Linked DNA regions of Homo sapiens: region 1 is linked to region 2. Evidence: promoter capture Hi-C in 16 types of primary human blood cells and fetal thymus (Javierre and others, 2016). All regions are on one chromosome and are shown on one strand. The core of a region is centred on a gene start or on the middle of the fragment in contact, and the rest is flanking DNA. Distances in the headings are between cores, read along the strand shown.

What was found. The method cuts DNA at HindIII sites, captures the fragments that hold promoters and counts their contacts. A CHiCAGO score of 5 or more calls a contact.
Region 1: a fragment that was not itself captured here is called in contact with the fragment with the promoter of SLC6A7 in region 2 in 1 of 17 cell types (endothelial precursors); the score reaches 5.4 in endothelial precursors.

The regions. Positions count from the first base shown.
Region 1 is chr5:149,852,348-149,855,047 of GRCh38, reverse strand. PPARGC1B (PPARG coactivator 1 beta) reads right to left here. Exons shown (of 12, transcript NM_133263.4): 12 at 26-2,700. Among named protein-coding and RNA genes, the nearest start is that of PDE6A, 91 kb to the left of the region's middle. The HindIII fragment of the contact is 1,171 bases long and covers 777-1,947 here.
Region 2 is chr5:150,188,636-150,191,335 of GRCh38, reverse strand. SLC6A7 (solute carrier family 6 member 7) reads right to left here and starts at 1,274. Exons shown (of 14, transcript NM_014228.5): 1 at 976-1,274. The coding sequence starts at 1,008. The HindIII fragment of the contact is 12,060 bases long and covers 1-2,700 here.

The DNA of each region.
Region 1 (2,700 bases), core at 113-2,612, 340 kb after region 2:
AAGGAAAAACACACATGGGCAAAGCTGTGGGTGGTATTTTGTTTTTAATCTCCATAGTGTATTTGTTAAGTTTATTTATAAGCAGATCACTTCACTATTTACAGTACATGAGCATAGAGATTCTACAGTTTCTGTGATGTAAACAATAACCCCACAGTGGGAGTTTGAGAAAAGAAGCCAGTTCTGAAGTATTTACAGACATTAAAATAGAACTTTATACTCACAGAATAATAATACATAGAGCAATTTGGTTAAATTATCTAGGAAACTATAGAATCTGACAATGTACAAATACAAGAAAACATTTTCTCATTTAGAAGGTAAGACAGAGAAATCACACCAGAAATAAAATAGGGACGATGACAACCACAATATGTAAAAGCAAAGAAGGTTTCCTCCTTGCCTCTTACGGATAAAGTATTTATATAAATAAGGACACAACCCAACAAAATGGAAAAAATATATAAAAATCCTCTACCAATTAAAAAAAATAGCAAAACTAAAAACTTGATTCTCAATCATTAGCAGTGTCCTTTAAAAAATTAAAATTTAGCTTTCTATTATAAATAACAAAGCAGATGTGTCCCTCTGTGTAGGTGAAATTCTTGCACCTTTCTCAATAAATGCATCAATGTAATTCCACACACACACACACACACAAACACACACACACAGGCACAGACGTGTGTATGTGTGCACAGATACACACACACACACCCCCACCACAAACACAGCCTTACACTCACGCACTCAGGCCGTAGTTACCTTGTTAAGCTTCCTAATAAATAATGCCCCCTACAGTAGTACCCCCGGGGATGACAAAACCTCACAGGTTTAGCCATTCCTTGGTTTGACCCTGTCGCAGAGTCAGGGAAAGCCCTGGCTCCTATTGCTCAGAATTCTCTAGGCTGTGTGGTCACACCAAGAGAAAATAATTTGAGTCCAAGATTTGGAAATGCTGGAAAGGACCATAGGGACCACCTTGCCCAGTTGATTAAGGCTGGCTACAGACACCTTCTTTAGAAACCTGGGGTTGGGGAGAGGGCTCGTGTTGGTTTCAACATTAGCAGCTGCCTCTGGAAGAAGCAGATGCTCCAAGCCAATGCTAACAACATGGCACAAGGAGGCGAGGGGGTGGGTGTGAATTCCAGAGCAGACTGCACTAAGCTGGACTTCTGGATGGTCATCTTCCCCAGAAACCATTTGGAAATCCAAGCAGTCTATTCCCCTGCTGCACATACCACCTTGTCCACGCTCCCCTTGAGATTTCCCACCTGTTTCCATTGGAATCAGAACATCCCTCAAGAAACAAAGTTGGGAATAGTTTATGACTTTTTATTCCTAACACAAAAACATTTGACAAGATTTTAAAAATACAAAATACAGAAACAAAAAATTGAACAAAAAAAACTATTTGGCTATTCGGGGATCATATCAAAGATCATGGCCAGGCCCCCCACAAAATCCTTACACCCAACTTCTTATCTTGCCTTGAGGGCAGAATTCGGACCACCCAGCAAAGGTTTACTTAACAAGGTCAGCAGCTGGGCTGCCAGTATTGCAGTTACAGTAAACCCTTCCCGGGCACCTGGACCTCTCCTGGTCCACTCCTGTCTCTTCTGCCCACAGGACAGCTAGTGCATTTCTCAGTTCTGCGTGAGAGTCTACTAAGTGGCTGCTTCTGGAGTCTTCTGACCCTAGTGTTGCACTGATCTCTGAACACAAAGGCAGTTCGTTCAGGCCATTATATTTCATTCCCAAAGTTCACGATGGACAGCAGGGTGGCCGAAAGGATTTATTTGCCTTCCATCTGGGTAGCTGGTGGAGACAACCTTTGGCCACTAGATGGCGACCGCATGTTGATAAGGCAAAGTGCTGAGGTGGAAACTGACCAATTCCCTTCACAAGTAACCAATGAGCAAGGGTGGTCAAGTGAAAAAGGAAGCTTTTGTAAGCCGCCTTGGAGACTCCTTTGACCAAAAATACAGCCCAGGGGGGTTCTAGTTATATAAACCCCTCTTTGAGGAGTTGTTGCACAGCCCAGGGACCGACCACCTATAAAACCTATTTTCCAAGCCCCAAATTTGGGCAGTTGGATTTTTGTACTCCTTCCGGATGTGCAAAGCATACTGATGAAACAGAGTATCTGAAAAGCTGTCCCCAGGAATCACGAAGGCTCAGTCACTGCTGCTATACCATTAAAGAAACAAAAAACAAAAGCTGCCCTAAACATATGCAGCGCGATCAATGCCTCCTGTTGCCCCATATGTTTTACAATCATTTGAAAGAAATGTGTGAAAAGCTCCTAAGCTGTTTTTCTTTAAAAAAAAAAAAAAAAAGTGTATTGCTAGTATTGTCTGAGAACAAGAGAGAAACAGCCAAATGGTCACAACATTCGGATTAACAGCTATCCAGTGGGGACAAAGACAAGGTTAATGTGAGATTTGACATCGTTACCTAGCCAAGTTGGGGGTTTAATTCCTTACTGTCCCCACTAGAAACTATGGCTTAGATCTGTCCCGGGGAGCTGGTCTTCTTGGATAAGGCAACTCAGCCAGGACACAGTGGGATTGAACCTACTGCTGGTTGGTTCTTGCAGAGAACCCTCACCCTGAACAGGAGCTGGGTCAAGTCAGAGAATGGAATCAGTTTCAAGGAGGAGTGATGGATTCCCAATGCTCCTGGTTGGGGATCTGAGCC
Region 2 (2,700 bases), core at 25-2,524:
AATGTGTGTGTATGTAGGGAGGTTGATAACACCAGCCCCTGAGAACAGTCTTCTCACATCTACCAGCCCTTTAGCATTCTTCCCCACACCTCACACACCCAGTGGGGCCTGTTTTGGTGCCTCCAGGCTAGGGCTTAGCCAGAGGAGGTTCAGGTTAGAGAATGAACTTGTCCAAAGTCACCAGGCAAGTGGCAGCGGCAGAAATAGTATTCAGGAGATCTGACTCCTTAGTTAGGACTGGTACAAGCCAGAAAACGTCCCCCAGTATTCCCCCTCCCCATATCCTGACAGCTTGGCTGAGAGGTCCAATCCCACAAGGCAAGGTAGGGAGAGCCTGAGGTCTGGGCCCACAGCCACTCTCCCATACCAGCTTCCATCTTCATTGATCATATCCTCCTGCCTCCGATAGCCCCCTCCCTGTCTTTGCCTCCCTTCAGCCCTGCTGAGGGGCAGCCTGGGGTCTCAGCAGGCAAGCTAAGGGGGCGGGGAGGGAGCAGGCAGGAAAGAGGAGAGTCTTCCCGCAGGCTCAGGGAGCCGGCTTCAGTATGGATGACCGCCTCCCACTCCCCACCCCTCAGATGAGTCCAGCTCAACGCTCAGGTATTCCAATACCCCCCACACCCGGCAATCAGCTCCTGGCGGGGAGCAGCAGGGTGGAATTGGGGAAGAGGTGGGTGCCTGGCCCCGGCCGCCCCTACCCCGCGCCTCCGGGGACTGCAGACACCTGTTCATAGGCCTGGCCCAGTGAACCAGGACTCCCCTCATACTACATCCCGAACCCCAGATGGCAGGGGCAGAGGTGGGGGCGCAGACCGTGACCCTGACCCTCCCTGTTATCCAGCTGAGTCGGGCCTTCCCCAGAGCCCGAAGCTGGTCTGGGTGCATCCTCAGACCTTCCCCAGGGGCCTCGTTGGGGGCGGGTCTCTCCAACCCTCCTCCAGGTGCACCCCCAGCGCCCCCGCCCTCGTGCCCTACCTTGCGGAGGTGAGCTCCCTGGAGCTTCTTCATCTTGGAGAGCGGGTGGCCGGGGCTCAGCTGCCCCGGAGCGCAGAGAGCGAGGGCACGAGAGATGGTCCGCTGGCCACTGCGCCTTTGCCCCCGCGGCTCCCGCGCACCGGCTGGGGCGGGCACGGACGCAGGCGCTGCCGTCTGGCGGCTGCGGGCGTGGAGCGCGGGCAGGGCGCTGCGAATGCCTTGTCTGTCCCTGCGCAGCGCCCGAGGCTGGGGAAGGGTGCACTGCTGCGCCCGCATAGACACCCAGACAGACAGCTGACGGACGGACGGCGGGGGGATGCGCGCGCCCCCGCACGCAGAGCTGCGGATTGGAGAGCCCTGAGCGAGTGGGGAGGGGGGTTCGCGACGGAAACCCTCGGCTTTCTGCGTGACCTTGGGCAAGCGACCTGCCCTCTCTGGGACTCCCTTTCCACAGTTGGGCAAGGAACACTAACAGCCCACCCCCCTGCGTCGTCTTTGCTGTGCGACCTTAGGGGATAAGAATCTCTCCTCTCTTACAGGAGTGTGAGCAATTCAGGAAGATGGAGCATAGAAAACATCTAGCACAAAGAGCCTGACACATAGTAGGTGCTCAGTTAACATTTATTCACTGACTGTGGGTTGCCCACGCCACCATTAGTCCAATTATTCAATCTATCAGTATTTATTGAGCACCTAAAATGTGCCAGGTCCTGAACTAGGTGTCCTATTTTCTCAACCTGGAGAGACAGGTGTCGTTACTCCTATTCTACAGATGAGGAAGCTGAGGGACAGGGAAGTTAAGTTACTTACTCAAAGTCACGGGGCTAATGAGTGACACCAGGGACAGAGTCAGGCTTCATGGACCTTTAGGCTAGTAGAGTCTTCAACTCTCCTCCTTTCCTTAAGATGAAAGCAAAATGGGGAGGTTTGGGTGAGCAGAAGGGACAGGCAAGTGCCACAGTGTCACTGTGATCTGTGACTTAGATGATTAGTAACTGGTTTCCTGTCCAGCAGCAGTATGGCTTCTGGAAAGTTCTAATTTCATATCTGTAAAATGGGCCACGAGCCGCCCATGCATTGTTGCCTCAGAATGTTCTGAGGGTCCAGTGAGCCTGTGGCTAGGATGGGAAATGATGAGCTGGAGCAATGGCACACGTTGGTTTGCTGGGACTGACTGATAGACACTAGCGGATCAGTATATACATTACAAATTGTGTCCTTTTCACCCTCGCAAGTGTCCCAGTTTAGACATTAACCATACATCTGTTTGGCTCACTATCAGTTGACACGGTGGGAGGCCTTTGGGGAGAGATGAGAATAAGGTTCTGCTCTCTCCCACCTCTGGAGCTTGAAAAAAGGTTGGAGGGGTTTAAGTCAAAGCATGGACTTGGGTAAAGGCCTGGCCAGGCTCCAGTCCACCCCTTCCCCTGCCCAGGTCCTGTCAAACTTCTCTCCCCTTTGAGCCTGGCCACAAAGGGCAAACCAGGGGCTCTCCAGACCCAGGAGGAAGGTGTCTCCTCTGCCCCCTGCCTGCTGACCCATATGGGGCCAAGAGTGGCTGTGAGTGTGAAGAGAAGGAGCATTTATGGAGCCCTACTGTGTGCATTATGAAGGATTTTTGCATCCAACATCTAATTTTTAATTCTTTCCAACTGTCTGGGAAGACATGTTTGTGCATCTCATTTTACACCTGTGGAAACTGTCCCAGAGGAGTGAAGTCATGCA